Regions from separate parts of the Homo sapiens genome. Here region 1 is linked to region 2. Evidence: promoter capture Hi-C in human tissues and cell types (Jung and others, 2019). All regions are on one chromosome and are shown on one strand. Each heading gives the region's core, a stretch centred on a gene start or on the middle of the fragment in contact. The rest is flanking DNA. Distances are from core to core; before and after follow the strand shown. Region 1 overlaps CASP7 (caspase 7). Region 2 holds the start of TRUB1 (TruB pseudouridine synthase family member 1).

What was found. The method cuts DNA at HindIII sites, captures the fragments that hold promoters and counts their contacts. A contact is called where the count stands out against the background at its distance.
Region 1: a contact is called between a fragment that was not itself captured here and the fragment with the promoter of TRUB1 in region 2, in 1 of the 25 tissues and cell types used here (stomach).

What each region holds. Positions count from the first base shown.
Region 1 is chr10:113,682,002-113,686,675 of GRCh38, forward strand. All of the region lies in intron 1 of CASP7 (caspase 7), which reads left to right. Among named protein-coding and RNA genes, the nearest start is that of CASP7, 4.4 kb to the left of the region's middle. RefSeq lists an enhancer at 405-534. The HindIII fragment of the contact is 8,159 bases long and covers 1-4,674 here.
Region 2 is chr10:114,935,924-114,941,026 of GRCh38, forward strand. TRUB1 (TruB pseudouridine synthase family member 1) reads left to right here and starts at 2,272. Exons shown (of 8, transcript NM_139169.5): 1 at 2,272-2,616. The coding sequence starts at 2,331. RefSeq lists an enhancer at 2,104-2,643. The HindIII fragment of the contact is 7,626 bases long and covers 1-5,103 here.

The sequences.
Region 1 (4,674 bases), core at 1,828-4,327, 1.3 Mb before region 2:
AAAACCAGGTCTTGGTTTGACTGAAATGACGTGTCTGAGATCAGGCATTCCCCACTTGGTTACCACCCTGGGCTATGATCGCTCTTTGGAGGTTCCAAAAATCAAGCCCAGTCTCATAGGAATAAGAAAGTAACTAATTGTTTAGCTTTACAGATTTGAAAGAGCCAAGTCCCACCACTGCTGACTTGGATTGTTAGAAGAGACACTTTCTGTCACTGCAGACAGTGTTCAGCATCAACCCAGAAGGATGCGGTAGGTTTCAGACAGAAGACCTAATGGCCTACTGTTTGGAGGGAAAGTTCTAGAAAGCGTCCCATCATTGAGCCACAGAAATCAGCCTGAATTTTACATCTCAGTAGCTAAGTCCAAAGCCCTCTCTTAGTGTCTGAGAAGGATGAGTTTAAGCTATACCCATCCTTTGGTGGAACATTTCAAATGTTTAATGAGTGCACAGTTCTCTCTGCCTGCATCGCTCCCACCTACCCTCTCTGCTTCCCCCTTTTCAGTTCTCAGGTCAGACATTTCCTCCCCTGAGGAGTTTCCCTAATTTCTGTGAGGCTCTTGAGTTTCCCTGGTATGGCTACAGATTGTTCACCCTCAAGGCATACACCACAGTTGCATTTCAAACTAGACGCCATCCTTTTTTTCATGTCTGTTTCTCAACATGGCAGGACCAGGTCAATTTGCTCACAAGTATATCCCTAATTCCTAACTTCTAGTAAATATCCATTGAATGAATGAAGAAGAGTCTCCAAAAGTCTCAGCAGTCCCAATAATATCAAAACAAAGGCTTGGCTTTCTTAGGAGCCATTTTGCTTAGGGTCTTCCCCTTTTTCAAAACCACTTTATTAAGGTATAGTTGAAATATAAAAAGCTAGGCATAGTTAATGCATGCATACCTACCAAGTTTGGAGATAAGCATAGATACACCCATGAAATCATCACCACCTCAACAAAGCTACCACCTCCTAAAGTTTCCTCCCACACCGTTTAATGCTATTATTACTATTATTTTTATTACTACTATTTTTTGAGGTGGAGTCTCAATGTGTCACCAGGCTGGAGTGCAGTGGCGCAATCTCGGCTAACTGCAACTTCTGCCTCCCGGGTTCAAGCGATTCCCCTGCCTCAGCCTCCCAAATAGCTGCGACTACAGGCATGCACCACCATGCCCAGCTAATTTTTGTATTTTTAGTAGAGACGGGGTTTCACCATGTTGGCCAGGATAGTCTCAATCTCTTGACCTTGTGATCCGCCTGCCTCAGCCTCCCAAAGTGCTGGGATCACAGGTGTGAGCCACCATGCCTGGCCAAAACTAGTATTTTTTGTGTGGTAAGAACATTCACCATAAGATCTACCCTTTTAGCAAATTGTAAGTATACCATATAGTATTGTTAGCTATGGGCACTATGCTATATAGGAGATCTCTAGAATTTATTCATCTTGCACAACTGAAACTGTGTACCCTTTGACTATCACTTCCCCATTTCTTCCTCGCTGCCCCCACCCCCAACCTCTGACAACCTCCATTCTATTCTCCACTTGTATGAGTTTGACTCTGTTAGATTCCACATAGATGTGAGATCATACAGTAATTGTCTTTCTGTGTCTGGCTTATCTCACTTAGCGTAATGTTCCTTAGGTCCATCCATCTTGTCACAGATGGCAGGATTTCCTTCTTTTTTTATGGCAGAATAATATTCCATTGTGTGTGTATACCACATATTCTTTATCTATTCATTCATTGATGGACATTTAGATTGTTTCCATAATGTTACAGTGAATGTGGGAGTGCAGGTATCTTTTTGAGATCCTGATTTCAGTTTCTCTAGATATATAGCCAGAAGTGAGATTATTGGATCATATGCGATTTCTAGTTTCAATTTTTTGAGAAACCTCTAGACAGTTTTCCATAATGGCTGTACCAATTTATATTCCCACCAACAGTATAGAAGAGTTCCCTTGTTTTCACATCCTTGCTAACACTTACCTTTATACACACACACATATATACATACACATACACATTATATATGCATATGTGTATGTGTATACACACACACACACACACATATAAAATAGCTATCCTAACAGTTGCGAGATGATATCTTATTGTGGTTTTGCTTTGCATTTCCCTGATGATTAGGAACATTGAGCACCTTTTCATATACCTGTTGCCCATTTGTATGTCTTTAGAGAAATGTCTATTCGGGTTCTTTGCCCATTTTTTTAATTAGATTTTTTTTTTTTTTTTTTTTTTTTGCTATTCTGTTGTGTGAGTTCCTTGTGTATTTTGGATATTAACCCCTTTTCAGATATATGGTTTGTAAATATTTTCTCCCATTCCATAGGTTGCTTTTTCGTTTTTTGTATTGTTTCCTTGCTATGCAGAGCTTTTTAGTTTGGTGTAATCCCACTTGTTTATTTTTGCCTTTGTTGCCTGTGCATTAGCATCATATGCAAAAACTCATTGTCAAGACCAATGTCAAAGAGCTTTCTCCCTATGTTTTCTTCTAGCAGTTTTAAGGTCTCAGGTCTTATGTTGAAGTCTTTAATCCATTTTGAGTTGATTTTTTTGTATGGTGTGAAATAAGAGTCTAGTTTTATTCTTTTGCATGTGGATATCCAATTTTCCCAACACCATTTCTTGAAGAGACTATCCTTTCCATATTGAATATTTTTGGCACCCTTGTCAAAAATTAGTTGACTGTAATGTGTGGGTTTATTTCCAGACTCTCTATTCTGTTCCGTTGCTCCATGTGTCTGCTTTATGCCAGTATCATACGGTTTTGATTACTATAGCTTTGTAATATAATTTGAAGTGAGGAAATGTGATGCCTCTAGCTTTGCTCTTGCTCAAGTTTGCTTTGGCTATTTAGGGTCTTTCGTAGCTACATATGAATTTTATAATTTTTTTATATGTCTGTGAAAATGCCATTGGAATTTAGATAGGGATTGCATTGAATCTGTTCAGTGATCAATTTGAGCAGCATGGACATTTTAACATATTAATTCTTCCAATCTATGAACATGGAATATCTTTCCATTTATTTATGTCTAATTTCTTTCATCAGTGTTTTGTAGTTTTGTTGTTCTGGCTCAAAGAAGAGCAGTGTGTTGCTTAATTTCCACATATTTGTGAATTCTCTAATTTCTCTCCTGTTACTGATTTCTACTTTCATACCATTTGTGGTCAGAAAAGATACATGATATGACTTTAATCCTCCTAAATTAATTAAGACTTGTTTTGTAGCCTAGCATATGATCCATCTTGGAGAATGTTGTGTACACTTGAGAAGAATGTGTATTTTGCTGCTGTTGGATGAAATGTTGTATATATGTCTGTTAGGTCCATTTGGACTAGTGTTGTTCAAATCCACTGTTTCCTAATTGATTTTCCATTTGGATGAAATATCCATAGTTGCAAGTGAGGTTTTGAAGTCCCTTACTCTTATCTATTGCTATTTCTTTCTGTAGTTCTATTAATACTTGTTTTATATATTTAGGTGTGCTAATGTTGATGCATATATATTTACAGTTGTTATGTCTTTGGTAAATTGATATCTATAGTTATAATATAATGACCTTCTTTATCTCGAAAGTTTTTTACTTTAGTCTATTTTGTCTGATATAAGTATAGCCCCCCCTGCTCTCTTTTGGTTACCATTCATATGGATTATCTTTTTATATCCCTTCACTTTTAGCCTATGTGTGTCCTTAAATCTAAAGTGAGTCTCTTGTAAATATCATGTAGTTGGATCTTATGTTTTTACTCTATTTAGTCACTGTATGTATTTTGATTGGATAACTTAATCCATTTACATTTAAAGAAATTATTGATAGGTAAAGGGCTCACTGTTGCCATTTTGTGATTGTTTTCTGACTGTTTTATAGTTCATCTGTTTCTCTCTTCCTCTCTTGCTTCCCTCCCATGTGATTTGATCATTTTTTGTAGTGATATGCTTTGTTTCTTTTCTGTATATATTTTGCATATCTACTACAGATTTTTGCTTTGTTATTACCATGAGGCTTACACAAAACATCTTATAACGTTCTATTCTAAGTTGATAACAACTTAGTCCATTTGGGATGCTATTACAAAATACCCTAAACTGGGTAGCTTATAAACAACAGAAATATATTTCTTGTAGTTCTGGAGGCTGGCATGTTGAAGATCAAAGTGCTAACAGCATCAGTGTATAGCGAAGTTTCATTTCCTTGTTCATTTATTATATCTTATCACATGGTAGATAGGGCAGGGCAGCTCTCTTTATATAAAAGTGCTAATCCCATTTATGGAGCTTTACCCTTTTGACCTAATCATACCCCAAATGCCCCACCTCCTAATACTATGACATTGGTGAATAGATTTCAATGTGTAAATTTTGGGGGGTACGTAAACATTCAGACCATAGCAACAACTTAACTTCACGCACATTCAAAAATTCTGCAGTTTTATTCTCTCCTTCCATGTTTTATGTTATTGATGTCACAGTTTACATTTCTTTATATTGTATATCTATTAACAACTATATAGCTATGGTTATTGAAGCTAGAGTTGTTTTTAATACTTTAGTCTTTTAACTTTAGTAGAGTTCAAAGTGATTTATGCACAGCTAATACAGATGCTCCTCAACCTATGATGGGTTTACATCCCTATAAACCCAATGTAAG
Region 2 (5,103 bases), core at 1,022-3,521:
AGCTAGGAAAGTGCCATGGTAGAGGGATAGAAAGAGGGAGGTATTATGTTCTGTAGGTGGTCAGGAGTGACTTCATCCAGAAGATTTTTGGAATTGGATCAAAATAGGATGGTTTAAAACAAGGATGTGGAATGAAGAGTTAGAATAAAAGGCCTGTTAGAAACAGGAAAGAGGAATAAAGACACAAGTGGGCCAGGCGTGATGGCTCGTGCCTGTAATCCCAGCACTTTGGGAGGCCGAGGCAGGCGGATCACCTGAGGTTGGGAGTTCATGACCAGCCTGACCAACATGGAGAAACCCCGTCCCTACTAAAAATACAAAATTAGCTGGGCATGGTGCCACATGCCTGTAATCCCACCTACTCAGGAGTCTGAGGCAGGAGAATCATTTGAACCCGGGAGGCGGAGGTTGCAGTGAGCTGAGATTGTGCCACTGCACTCCAGCCTGGGCAACAAGAGTGAAACTCTGTCTCAAAAAAAAAAAAAAAAAAAAAAAAGACACAAGTGAGTAGCATAAAAGAAGGATGTGCAGCTAGAGACAGAGAACTTTCTAGGTTCTGAATAGTGTGTCAGTGTATTTCTGATAAATCTTCTCCCCCTGTGCCCCCAAGCTGGTATGAATCAGTTTTCTGTTGACCAAAGAGCCCAAACTCATACATGTATTGGAGCAAAAAAAACCTGTGAATTCAAGGCCTGCCCAATGTGGGAGATGTTGATTACCTTAGAAAAACAAAGCTTGGTGCTTCTGATCCCAAGAATGCCGATATAATAGCAGAGTAGCATTAATTTTGTTGTGTCCTAGCATCCCAGAAATCAAACATGCAAGAAATATACATTTCTTCATTTTCTTTAAATCAGATTAACTCTGGTCCTACACTGGGCTGATGGAAAATTCAAATATAAGCATCATATGTTACCCCTAGTTCTGTTCTCCCTCTGCATCCCTCACCCCCAGAGCCACAAGAGAAATAGGGAGGCTTGCTGATGTCCGGACAATTGGGAAAAGGCCTCTAATCTCCAAGTGCCTTGGAGTCATCCAAGTCATCATTGATCAAGCCTTGCAACCTTCCCTGCAAGTCCCTGGCTCTCTGCTTCCATGGCACAAGAATAGAGAACTCTTTCCTGAGGCTAATGGACACCATGCTCCTTTGGGTGCAGTCATCCCTTCTGAAGTCACAACATCTTTGTGGAAAAATTAACATCTTGAAGCAGGGCCAGGTGTCCACTAATCCTGTGATATGCCAATCTTTTCAGTTAGCTTAGGCTTTTATAATAGACCACAAGAGTAAGTGACTTCCTTCTAGGAGTTTCAGCTTTCCACCCTGAAAAAACTCCCTCAAAGATTTTTTTTTCCTTTTAATAAATTGTTCTGCCATGTGTCTGTTGCACGAATGGGTGCAAGTTCAAATGGGACCCCATAACTGGTGATTGTGAGCAGCTAAGGGGCATCACTAAAATACTAGATATTAAAGTCCAAGAGTATGATGAGGACAAAGAGTGGTTGTAAAGAAACCTAAAAAACAATGAGGGCAAACTTTATCTGTCTCACAATAGTTATGATAGCATTTAATGTTTCTGGTGCAGAAGTAATTTTTCTCCACTCTGCCTTGTGCTGGAATCAAAACAATATTCCTCAATCTTGTTAGGGAGTGAATAACTTTTAGGGAGAAGGTCTCAAATGGGAAGTGGTTTAAAGTTTATGAATTGCAAGAATACCTTTTGATATCTAAACAAAGTGTACTAAGGAATTCAACCCACAGAAGAGCTGATATTCAAAATCAGAATTATTAAAAATTGTAGTGGGGTCAGTGGGGGTTTGGGGAGGGTGAACAGGAGTGCATGAAGAGCATCAAAATAAGCACAAGTGATTTACCATTGGCTTGGTTTCTTCGGGGAATTTGAAGAATTCATACTTATTTATACGTTTTCAAATATTTATTTAAGTGCCTACAACATGTGAGGCATTTGGGAATGTCTCAGTTAACGTGGTACATAAGTTCCTTGCTCTAATAGAGCTCACATTTGGATGTCTTCTAATTCTGAACCTGAATGTAAGAGCACAATACAATCAATGAAGCAGTGAGCCCAGGAAGCCATGGATCTTCACAAGCCTCAGGAAAAGTCAACATTTAAAATTTTCTATTTAAAGTCCAAGGGCACAGCAAGCTCTTGGTCTATATGGGAAGGCCATGGACTACAATTCCCACAAGTCCGTGCGACCTCTCCGTTCTGCGCAGCTTCGCGGTATGAGGAAGAGGGTCCTGTCAGGCGCACTCTTGTTGCATCATCAGCGTGCACCTCCACGATGAAACAGGTCTGGGCTACAAAAGTATGGCCGCTTCTGAGGCGGCGGTGGTGTCTTCGCCGTCTTTGAAAACAGACACATCCCCTGTCCTTGAAACTGCAGGAACGGTCGCAGCAATGGCTGCGACCCCGTCAGCAAGGGCTGCAGCCGCGGTGGTTGCGGCCGCGGCCAGGACCGGATCCGAAGCCAGGGTCTCCAAGGCCGCTTTGGCTACCAAGCTGCTGTCCTTGAGCGGCGTGTTCGCCGTGCACAAGCCCAAAGGGCCCACTTCAGCCGAGCTGCTGAATCGGTTGAAGGAGAAGCTGCTGGCAGGTACTGCAGCCCGGGTGGGGACCAGGCTGAGGCGGTCGCTGCGAGAGGGGAAGCACATTAGGCTTTTTGCGACGCTCGTGATTCAAGAGACAAAAGGAGGGGAAAGGGAGACTGACCATTGAATTAGCTCTGGACAGGAATCTCGGGCATCTCGGGCTTGGACTTGCCCTGGCACGAACTCTTGTAGCCTACTTGGCAGTTGTAGTTCTCAACGGGAGGAAAAAAATCCCGTACTTACACAATAAAACCCTGCCCTTGGGCGTGCAGACCTGTTTTCTGTAATCTGATCGATCCCTCAGGAGGCTTTTGTTGGGTTCATGTGGATGAACCCCAAAAGGAAGTACTGGTTCTGCACCCCTAAAGTTGCATTCCTCAAAATGTATTGGAAATGCAGATATACTTCGTTAACCAAGACTTAATATAGTCGTTTTCACATTTTAATGGGCCTAACAATTACTTAGAGTCTCTTGTACAAATACAGATTCCTAATCCCTGCCCTGTCCGAGATTGTGATTCGGAGAGTTCGGGGTATTTTTAGGAAACTGCAATTCTAAATAGTTGCTCCAGGTGATTCCAGTGTAAGTAGTTTATGGACCACATTTGAGGAACACTAAATATAACTTGGCCACTAAGCTGAGAGTGTTCATTTTATTGATTCGTTTATTCACGTACACTGGGAAAATAGTAGAAAAGCCTAGAGAATCACCCCGTTAATCAGCTCGGATGATTTCACACATAAAGCATCCAGGATCCTTAAGTTCATTGGACATATACAATAAGCCAGGTCTGTGCTAGCCTATAGAGACTTGAAGATGAAAGATAACTCTCTTACCTTAACTGAGCTGATAGCCTAGTAATTTCTGCACCTTGTGGTGGTAAAACTAGTTAGTTAGGTTATTCAAGGCCCTCCAGAGTTTGGCCGTATTCTGTCTCGCCATTAAACCAGTAACAGGGACTTTCTTACATTGTTTAGTGTCCCATGGAAAACTTTACACTTTAAAAAAATGCAAAAACAAATTATTCTGATGGGAATTATAACTGACAGTACAGATTTAAGTGTTTATGGGCAAATAGGTACACTCCTGCAGATGTTTAATTCCAGTATCACGACTACTTATTCTTTTATTAAAGTTTTGCTTTGTTGCCTGAAAGTATGGGTCATACAGAGGACGTCAAAGTGAGGAATTGCATCAAGGATATGTATTGTGGTATCATCATAGTTTTTTAGTTTTCCTTCATAGAACTGCTGCTTTCCTGATTTGTTAGCTAAACTCTGGGTTTCTTTTCTTTTTTTTTTTTTTTTATCCTTAAGGTAATGATTACCATTCTTTCAGACAAGTTTCTGACAAAGCCATATTCTGGCCTTCTGGCTAATCTGCCTCTAAGAACTGAAGTTTCTTGTTGAATCTTGGTTAAAATGTTTCAAGGCTCTTGCTAGGCTAGAACCTTTAGCTAGAGACATTCTCATTATCCTCGATTTCTATATTGCTTGTGATTGGCCTATTTTGTATTTATGTTAGTTAGGCTAGGGCTTTCCAAATGTCATTGTAATTGGCTGTCAGAATTGCTTGGGAAGTTTTTGTTTTTGTTTTTGTTTTTGAGATGGAGTTTCGCTGTTGTTGCCCAGGCTGGAGTGCAATGGCAAGATCTCGGCTCACTGCAACCTTCCCCTCCTGGGTTCAAGTGATTCTCCTGCCTCAGCCTCCCAAGTAGCTGGGATTACAGGCATGCACCACCATGCCCAGCTAATTTTGTATTTTTGGTAGAGACGGGGTTTCTCCATGTTGGTCAGGCTGGGCTCGAACTCCCGACCTCAGGTGATCTGCCCGCCTCAGCCTCCCAAAATGCTGGGATTACAGGCATGAGCCACCACTCCCGGCCTTGGGAAGGTTCTTAAAGATACCTACATTCTAATGCCATGTTTGACAACCATGATCAGTGGTTGTGTCCTCTAATACCATTCCTTGTCTTTCTTTGCATTGATTCCTATTATGCTACAATCTCTACTGTTTGTCTGTTGGGATCCTTCAAAGCCCTAAGTGTACCAGAATTTTATAGCTAGAAAATAATAAAAATCCACGAATACTTAGTTCAGTGGGGTGAACCAAATTCCCCACTTTATATAGTAGAGGCAGTACGTCTGCAAGTTAGAAGGAGGTATATTTGGGCACAAAGGGAAGATAGTATATTTATGGGGCCTTCTTACTCCAAGGGGTGTCAAGTTGAAAATGTAAAGAGTTCCCCAAAAGGTTTCTGTTAATTTATGAGTGAGAGATCCATGATGGATTGCAAGTGACAGATCAAGGGTTTGAAACTGAGGTCTGGCCTTAGAAGTTTATGTCAAAGCAGACAACCATACCCTTCTAAGTATGGTGATGTCATAATTAGGGAATGACGCCAGGGTGTTCCAGAGACCATGGTTCTGACTCAGTAGAGTGGTAATTTTGTTGGGAGGCCGAGCCACCCAGCATATCCTTTTGGCCATTT